Linked DNA regions of Homo sapiens: all the other regions are linked to region 2. Evidence: promoter capture Hi-C in 16 types of primary human blood cells and fetal thymus (Javierre and others, 2016). All regions are on one chromosome and are shown on one strand. The core of a region is centred on a gene start or on the middle of the fragment in contact, and the rest is flanking DNA. Distances in the headings are between cores, read along the strand shown. Region 1 has its middle 24 kb from the start of ZNF577. Region 2 holds the start of DPRX (divergent-paired related homeobox). Region 3 overlaps FPR3 (formyl peptide receptor 3).

What was found. Contacts are between HindIII fragments. The CHiCAGO score rates a contact against its expected background, and 5 or more counts as called.
Region 1: a fragment that was not itself captured here is called in contact with the fragment with the promoter of DPRX in region 2 in 5 of 17 cell types (total CD4 T cells, non-activated CD4 T cells, naive CD4 T cells and 2 more); the score reaches 7.9 in total CD4 T cells.
Region 3: a contact is called between a fragment that was not itself captured here and the fragment with the promoter of DPRX in region 2, in 5 of 17 cell types (naive CD8 T cells, naive B cells, total CD4 T cells and 2 more). The highest score is 8.8, in naive CD8 T cells.

The regions. Positions count from the first base shown.
Region 1 is chr19:51,861,870-51,865,177 of GRCh38, reverse strand. It overlaps a transcript of ZNF577 not described here and the pseudogene LOC100419706. Among named protein-coding and RNA genes, the nearest start is that of ZNF577, 24 kb to the left of the region's middle. The HindIII fragment of the contact is 1,634 bases long and covers 922-2,555 here.
Region 2 is chr19:53,630,421-53,633,442 of GRCh38, reverse strand. DPRX (divergent-paired related homeobox) reads right to left here and starts at 1,444. Exons shown (of 3, transcript NM_001012728.2): 1 at 1,309-1,444. The coding sequence starts at 1,336. The HindIII fragment of the contact is 17,175 bases long and covers 1-3,022 here.
Region 3 is chr19:51,821,081-51,824,144 of GRCh38, reverse strand. It overlaps FPR3 (formyl peptide receptor 3), which reads right to left. Exons shown (of 2, transcript NM_002030.5): 2 at 1-406. The coding sequence starts at 396. It also overlaps a transcript of ZNF577 not described here. Among named protein-coding and RNA genes, the nearest start is that of FPR3, 27 kb to the right of the region's middle. The HindIII fragment of the contact is 5,603 bases long and covers 1-3,064 here.

The sequences.
Region 1 (3,308 bases), core at 489-2,988, 1.8 Mb after region 2:
TTGCAGTGAGCTGAGATTGCGCCATTGCACTCCAGCCTGGGTGACAAGAGCGAAACTCCGTCTCAAGAAAAAAAAAATCTTTGGGAAAGTTCATTGACTGTTGCATGCAGAATTAAAGAAGAATGAATCTGAAACAGAGTGACAGCACTTACATTTATGTGAAGAGCTGAGAAGACTTCATTTTATCTTGCTTCCCACAGATGTTGGTTCCTAAGACTTAAGTTGGCCTCTTTTCTGGGTACTTATTGTTTGAGCGTGATGGATGGACTTTTTCCATTCTCTGGGCATCTCCTTCTCCCAAAGCCTTCAGAGTTGGAGGGCGTAAGGGTGCTTCATCATTGGTAATTTCTTTTCTTTGTTCCCAGTGTGACCTCTTCGATTTCATGGACTTAACAATGCTATTTATATGTTGATGACTCACAGATTTCTCTCTACAGGCTAGATATTTCCTTATCCTCCTACATTTGCCTGGGAATTGCTTGGAGATCTAATAGCTAACTCAAACTTCAAGTCATCCTTGCTTCACCGTTTCACTCATCCCACAAATCCAGTCCATTTAGCAAGTTTAGACTTTACTTTCTCCTTATATCTCGAGGTCCTCTACTCCTTTCTCTAACAGTTATTTTCACTCAAGCTTCGATGTCCATTATCTCTTGCCAAAATTATGATAGTTTTCTCTAATATACTCTCAGTCCTTTACTCTTGTTTCTATTCTCCACATAATACCCTTAATGAATTTATTTTACTATTTTCATTTATGAAAATAAATGCGGGAGTCAGGGGCGGGAGTCAGGGGCAGGAGTCAGTGTTTCTAGCCCCTCACCTCCAAAATCCCTGAACATTAAAATAAACATCAGAAACATCTTGGTTCTTAAAAGACTTCAGATTTTGACAAAAGTGTTGCGGAAAGTAATTAAAGCTTCATATAAAAAGGTAAATCTTAGTTGGAGGATGGAAAGATCTAAATTATGGTCTAAAAAATGCTATATGATGTAGCAAATCTGTACTCATTCACAGGGTGCAAGCCTAAAAATATTCATGCCATAATATTTAAGACATGGTCAGTGTTAATTACTGATAAACATACACACAGGATGTTGCTTTTAAATTGGAAATCAGGACATGTCATCCTGCTCCCACTATCATTGGTAATGGCATCCTGTTACTGTTAGCACAAGATCCAAATTCTTTTCAGGATCCTCCTACAAGGGAGCATTCCCTGATTTCGGCCTAAACGTTTTTGTTTACTTATTAATGAAAAATGTTTTGGTATAACATACATATAATGTAATTATACAGCTAGGTAACTTTCTAGTCAGCACACTGTGCAACCAGCACCTAGATCAAGAATCTGAGTCCTGTGCAGAATGGCATTGGGTGAATATTACACTGTTTATCTCTTTTACATTCAGGCCATTATACTTAGTGTCCCTATGTATGTTTTCATCAATATCTTTATTTTTATTTTCTCCTTTTGAAAATGCTTGTCTCCAAATGGTCTAGATTTAATGAGATGTTCCAAAATGATACACAAAATTCTTGCACATTCTTTTTGCAAATTTCCCCAAAATATGATTTTACCAATTTGCTTTATTTTATCTATACACACACACCACACACAGGTACATATGGTTTTTCTGAACTCTACCCTAAAACCCAAGTGTGTATTTCATAGGAAGAAGAGCATTCTTTTGCATAATCAGAATACTGTGATCAAAATCAGAATATTGACATTGATATAGTATTATTATTTAAAATACAGAGCTTACTCAAATTTAACCATCTTACTAATATCTTTTTATGGTAAATGGGAAAAGAAGCCTTTTTCTGGACCTCTTCTTGTTATCTCACTTACTCTGTTGTGCGTACACTAGCTTTCATAACATCCAGAAGTCAGAGCTTGCTAATTATAACCAATTCTTTTTGGAAAGAAATCATATGGATGCAGTGAATGTGCAGTGAATACTTGTAAACTACTCATGACCATGCCTCAGAGAACTCATGCAGGAAACAAATCCCAGGAATCTCATGATTTTAGGAGAGCCCTTCCCAGTGAGTTAAAGCTCATTGCTCATCAGCAAACTCAAACAGGAGTGAGACCCTACTGATGCAATCAATGTCAAAAAGCCTTCATTACAAATTCAGGGCTTGTGTATCATCAGAAAACTCATCATAGAGAAGGGAAAGTCTGTACATGCAGCAAATGTGGAGAAGTTTTCCCTTGGAAGTCAGAACTCATTTTATGTCAAAGAAATCATTCAGGAGAGAGACCGTTCATTTGCAAAGTATGTGATAAAGGCTTTGTGGTTAGGACACATCTCACTGTACATCAGAGAGCTCACACAGGAGAGAAACCATATGCTTGCTCAGATTGTGAAAAAGCCTTCTCAAAAAAGGCTTTATTCATGATTCATCAGTGAATTCACACAGGAGAGATACCCTATTAATGCATTCAATGTCAAACAGCTTTGAAGACCAGATCTGAGCTCAGTTATCCTCAGAAAGTTCTTCATAGAAAAGGAAAATTCTATGGATGCAGTAAATGTGGGAAAGCTTTTCCTTGGAAGTCGAACCTCATTTTGCATCTCAGAACTCATTCAGGAGAGAGACCTTTCAGGTGCAAAGTCTATCATAAAGCCTTCATGGTTAGAACACAGCTAACTATACATCAGAGAACTCACACAGGAGAGAAACCATATGCTTGCTTGGATTATGAGAAAGCCTTCTTGAAAAAGGCTCAGCTTATGAAGCATCAGTGAATTCATACAGAAGAAAGACCCTATGGATGCAGTGAATGTCAAGAAGCTTTCATCTGGAAGTTGGATCTCAACAATCATAAGAAAACTCATCATGCAGTAAGGAAATCCCATGAATGCAGTGAATGTGGGAAGGTTTTATCCTCCAAAAAAAACTTTGTTATACATCAGAGAACCCATACAGGTGAGAAACCCTTCAAATGCAATGTATGTGATAAAGCCTTCACATCAAAGGGAAATCTCATTGTATATCAGAGAACTCATATAGGAAATAAATCATATGAATGCTCAGACTGTGATAGGGCCTTCTCCAGTAAGGTATATCTCATGACTCATCAGCCAATTCACACAGGAGAGAGACCCTATGATGCAATGAAGGTCAACAAGCTTTCACCCAAAAGACAGGTCTCAGTAAGCATCGAAAAACTTGCCATGCAAGAATGAAATCTTATGGATACAGTGGATGTGGGAAGGTTTTGTCCTGTAAGTCAACTCTCATTATATAACAGAGAACCTATACAGGTGAGAAACTCCTCAAATGTAGCATGTGTA
Region 2 (3,022 bases), core at 195-2,694:
AAATAGGCAACTCAATCCAAGGTGAAATGGATGGACATGGTTTTATTCTTATCATTTATTCAATGTTCATTAAGTATATTCTTTTAGGAATATAGCAAGGAAATAAGCAGAAAAATAACATCACTGCTGTCACGGATGTCACCTTTTACTTTCTTTTTCTTGAGACAGTGTACTGCTGTGTTGCCCAGTGGCATGATCACAGCTCACTTCAGCCTCAACCTCCCCAGGCTCAAGCGATCCTCTCACCTCAGCCTCCCGAGTAGCTGGAACTACACAACACTGACATGCCCGGCTAATTTTTGTATTTTTTGTAGAGACAACGTCTTGTTTTGTTGCCCAGGCTGGTCTTGAACTCCTGGGCTGAAGCGATCTGCCCACCTCGGCCTCCCAAAGTGCTGGGATTACAGGCATGAGCCACCGCATGCCTCGCTCTAAAAGATCTGAATCGCATCATGCCTGAAAATGGTTTGGCAGCAGCTCCAGAGTCTAGTAAGTGCTCATGAACATGAGATTTCCAGCTTGGCTAAGCCTATATTCTATCTAGGACCTAATCATCCTCATAGGAATCAGATTCCCCTGTGCTCAAGAACAAGCATCGGGGTGGGAAGAATTAGGACACAACTACGAGGGAGAAGATTTCGGATTTGAAGGCAGAAACAGGCTTCCCTGCATTTGCCTGTGCTGTCAGATGACAGCCGCGGCCGGGCACCGAGGCTCATGCCTGTAATCCCAGCACTTTGGGAGGCCGAGGCCAGCCAATCACATGAGGTCAGGGGCTTGAGACCAACCTAGCTAACATGGTGAAACCCCATCTCTATAAAGATACAAAACTTGGGCCGGGTGCAGTGGCTCACGCCTGTCACCCCAGCACTTTGGGAGGCTGAGCCAGACGGATCACAAGGTCAGGAGTTCGAGACCAGCCTGGTCAATATGGTGAAACCCCCGGCTCTACTAAAAATACAAAAAAAAAAAAAATTAGCCAGGTGTGGTGGCGTGTGCCTGTCATCCCAGCTACTCGGGAGGCTGAGGCAGGAGAATTGCTTGAACCTGGGAGGTGGAGGTTGCAGTGAGCCGAAATCGTGCCACTGCACTCCAGCCTGAGCGACAGAGTGAGACTGTCTCAAAAGACAAACAAAACAAAACAAAACAACAACAACAAAAACGATGACAGCCTCTGTGGGAAGTCCCTGCCACCCACGTGGACGAAGCACCAGCTTCGGCCGCCTGGTCCCTCTGCCTTTTCCCGCCGCCAGCTGCTTTCCACTTCTTCACGTGTCTTTGCTTCGGTTCTCATTTTTTCTGGCTTACCTTTACGAAGATCCTCTGAGCCTGGCATCTTCTAATCCAGATGTGCGCCTGGGTTCAGGTCCAGGGATAAGAACTAGCAAAGATCAAATCCGGATTTAAGTAGCTTCCTCCACAGCCACACCCGACTCCCACCTCCTCCACCTTTCTCTGCCCTATCTGCCTCCAATATGATCCCTCGGTCCTCCAGAGCCCCCTGGATTTCTCCCAATACTGTCATTTTATCTAATATTGATTGAGCGGAGACCAACGACTCAAAGGCGAGTCCACAAACCAGCCCCACTAACACTCCTGGGAGTTGTTAAAATGCAGAATCCTGGCCCACTCCAGACTTCCTGAGCAGAAGCTGCAATTTCTTTTCTTTTTTTCTTTTTCTTTGAGACAGAGTCCCACTCTGTCACCCAGGCTGGAGCGCAATGACACCATCTTGGCTCACTGCAGCCTCTGCCTCCCAGGTTCAAGGGATTCTCATGTCTCAGCCTCCCGAGTAGCTGAGATCACAGGCCTGTGCCACCACTCCTGACTAATTTTTGTATTTTTAGTAGAGACGGAGTTTCCGCCATGTTGGCCAGGCTGGTCTTGAACTCCTGCCCTCAACGTTTCTGACTCGGTCTGGGGTGGGATCTGATGATTTCCATATCTAACAAGCACCCAGGTGACCAGGCTCCGTAATGGGGACCGGGAATGTGATTGTGAATAATGAAGTCCAGGTTTAAACCCTAAAGGGGCTTTCAGGCAACTTATATATTCTTTAGTGGCTAATATATGCTTGGCATTGTTCTGCATATCCTGATTTAGTTAACTCACTCAGAAATCATCTCATTTTATTTATTTATTTATTTATTTAGAGATGGAGTCTCACTCTGTCACCCAGGCTGGAGTGCAGTGGCACGATCTCGGCTCACAGCAACCTCCGCCTCTCAGGTTCAAGCAATTCTCCTGCCTCAGCCTTCCCAGTAGCTGGGATTACAGGCACCCACCACCAAGCCTGGCTAATTACAGGTGGCTCACACCTGTAATCCCAGCACTTTGGGAGGCTGAGGCAGGCGGATCACCTGAGGTCAGGAGTTCGAGACCAGCCTGGCCAACATGGCGAAACCCCATCTCTACTAAAAATACGAAAATTAGCTGGGTGTGGTGGTGGGCACCTGTAATCCCAGCTACTCAGGAGGCTGAGGCAGGAGAATTGCTTGAACCCAGGAGGCAGAGGTTGCAGTGAGCTGAGATCGCACCACTGCACTCCAGCCTGGGTGACAGGAGTGAGACTCCATCTCAAAAAAATAAAAGAAAAAGCTGCAACACCTTTCAGATGCCCAGGCTCACACCATGTATACCTTTTATCTTGACGACAAGGGCAGTTTGACTTCAGGTTCACAGAAGTGGCAGTTTTTCTTGCCATTCCATCCATTTGAATCTCAGTTCTGCACATCTCTACTTGTGACAGTGGTTAGCCTTTGCATAAATGAGCTTGTAGCTACTTTTTTTTTTCTTTTTGAGACAGGGTCTTGCTATGTCTCAAAAAACACAGCTGACTGCAGCCTCGACCTACTGGGCTCAAGTGATCCTCCTACATTTGCCCCCAAGTAGCTGTGACTACAAAGGCCTAGGCCCAGCCTGGAGTGCAGTGGCAAAATCATAGCTCAATGCAGCCTTAACCTCCTGGGCCTAGGTGAGCCTCTCACCTAAGCCTCCTGAGTAACTGGGACTACAGGTGCAC
Region 3 (3,064 bases), core at 310-2,809, 1.8 Mb after region 2:
CCAGGCTGGATGCAGGACACAAATACAGCGGTCCAGAGCAATGATGGTGATCAGGTAGACACTGACAAACAGGTTGATGTCTATCATAACATGAACTAACTTACATAGGAATGAGCCAAAAGGCCATTTTTCTCTCATGGCGACTGAGACCATTCGGAATGGTAGGATGGCACTGAAAGAGAAGTCAGCTAGGGCCAGGTTCAGGTAACAGATGGTGTTGACTGTGCGTGTCATCCGGAATCCAGCCACCCAGATCACAAGCCCATTGCCCAGGACCCCGAAGACAAAGGTGACTCCGTGGACTAGCAATGAGAAGATCCACAGAACGGTGTGGCCAGCAGGCTCAGGGAGCACCTCCTCAGTTTCATTCAGAGGAATGGAGAAGTTGGTTTCCATCTTCCCACACCTGAAACATTTCAGCAATGGCCATTTCTCAGCTGTGACACCATCTTACAATACAACTATTCATTAACTTCCACTGTAGCTCCTCCTCCTACCAGCAGACCCTCCCCAGTGAGCCTTGTGAATGGTTATAACATAAAATTGGCACTCTCTCGGAGTTCCTTTGGGAAACGATAGTTCTCTATATTCCCATCATTATTAATATGCATGCCACCTATCAAGCTGATTACCAAGAGGATTAAAGGGCTCTGTCCACCAGCGGAAATACTGAACTGAGAGTGTATGGACAATGGAAAATTGAGCATAGGCAGCTTCAGCTTCGTGAGGAAGGCACAAGACTCAGAGTCAGAAGGTTCACATCTGTGGCCTCCATCACTCAATGCAAACATGCTGGCAAGCTCTGCAACTTCTTTCGGCCCCATGCTCTCCCAGTCTCCCAGCTCCTGTCCCTCCCACTGTGAGGACCCTTGACCTATTTTTTAGTTGATATTTAATTTGAAGTTTTAGGGTTTGGATTGAGTTAGCTGAAGAGGATTTTGAACCATTACTTGTAATATATAGACATATATTACATGCTATAGGCCGGGCGTGGTGACTCATGCCTGTAACCCCAGCACTTTAGGAGGTTGAGGAGAGTGGATCACTTGAGATCAGGAGTTGGAGACTGGCCTGGCCAACATGGTGAAACTCCATCTCTACTAAAAATGCAAAAATTAGCCAGGTGTGGTGGCAAGAGCCTGTAACTCCAGCTACTTAGGAGGCTGAGGCAGGAGAATTGCTTGAACCTGGGAGGCAGAGGTTGCAGTGAGCCAAGATCGTGCCACTGCACTTCAGTCTGGATGTCAGAGTAGATTCCATTTCCCCCCACAAAAAAAAAGAGCAGAAATATATTACATCCTATAGATTCTGTGCTAGATGAAGTCAACAAAGAGGGCCCTATATTTACTTTCTCCCGTCTGCTTTTCATTGTCCCTACTTAGCATCCGTTGTATATCTTCAAGGTCTGTGGGATAAACAGAATGAGCATGAATATTTAGCTAGTATTTGTAGGGTTCTTATCAGAGACTATTCACTGTGTTAATTGCTACATATGGGTTGTAGTTTGGTCTGCATAGTAGCTCTGTAATATTCATTGTTTGTAGTTTCCACAGGAATGACTCAATGTTGAGAGCAATTGTGAAATCTGCTGGTCACTTAAGTAGGAAACAGTAGACAAAGATCTTTAATCTAGCTTAGTCTGACTTCTAAGCCCTTTCTCTATGCAACAATTCTGACAGATATTGCTGGTGATGCCCCCTCCCCCCACAAATAACTGTTCCTCATTTCTTCTCTGCAAATCAAATCGCAATTTTGTTCAGTTACTCACTCTTTTGGGGGAAGGTATCCCTCCTCCATCTTTGCGGGCATATCTTGATTTTCTAATTTGTTCTAACTAGAATTCCTTTTGCTTTGCAAGGGATTGCTTTATTGGTGGAAACATGACTAAATTCTGGGCAATAACACTATGGGAGGATATCCTGGCATCTTTCTGGGATCTATTTCCTTGCTTTTAAGAAACAGAATCACAAAATTACAGTCCCTGCCTCTGCACCAGGTCACATGGGAAGCTGTTGCATCCAACTCAACCCAAAGGTCTCTGTGTCCCTTGTGTCTTTGCCACTTGACCAAATTTGCTTATACTGTGGTCTGTGGGCTGTATCAGAAACATCCAAGGTATTTGTTAAAATGCATATTCATGAACCCAACTCTAGAATCTCTCTGTGTAAAAGCTACAGTGATTTTTATGGCCAGGAAAATTAGAGACTCTTCCTACCTTGGGATATCCAGCCTCTCTAAAAGTAACAGCAATTATACAGCACTTGTTCACAAATAATACTCATAATAACATTGTGGGCAGCCATCATTACCCCTTTTTGTACCAGAGGGAATTCATGGCCTTGGGGTTTTTGTAGGTTTTTTTTTTTCAGCATCATGTCCAGCCGGTCAGTGGAGGCAGCAAGATTTGAAATTCAGGATGAGCAACTTTAGAGCCACTACCGTTGCAACTCTAAAATGCTGCATTTGAAAGGAGTTCCCCAGATATTTCCAGCATGTGGTCATACCCTAGTATCATGGTTTTTTCCTCCTTTCCCTTTCTCTCTTCCTTCTTTTCTTCCTGTCATTACCAGTCACTTTCACTGAGGTCTTTCATGGGACATTGTTTAATGTAGCTCAAGGTTTCTCAACGTTGGCACTACAGACAATTGGGGCTGTGTAATTCTTTGTTGTGGGGGACTGTTCTGTGCACAGTAGGATATTTAGCAACACCCCTGGCCTCTATCCACCGATGCTAGTAGCAACTCCCCCTTCAGGAGTGACAACTGAAAGTGTCTATAGACATTGTCAAAGGTCCCGTGGGAGGCAAAACTCCCCCCAGTTGAGCATCACTGTTACAGAGTAAAGAACACTGGGCTTTGGGGTCAGTTAGATCGCTACTCTTATCGTTGGCACCTTGCCAATATGGGTTCTTGGTCAGTGATATCTCTTTGAGCCTCAGTTTTCTCCTCTGCAGAACAAGGACAGTTTTGTGGTGAAGTCTAACTTTCAGGTGAGGATTAAGTGAGACTGGACATGGAAATCTTCTAGGCTAGACTGAGTGTCTGTGACAAATGGGAACTTCTGG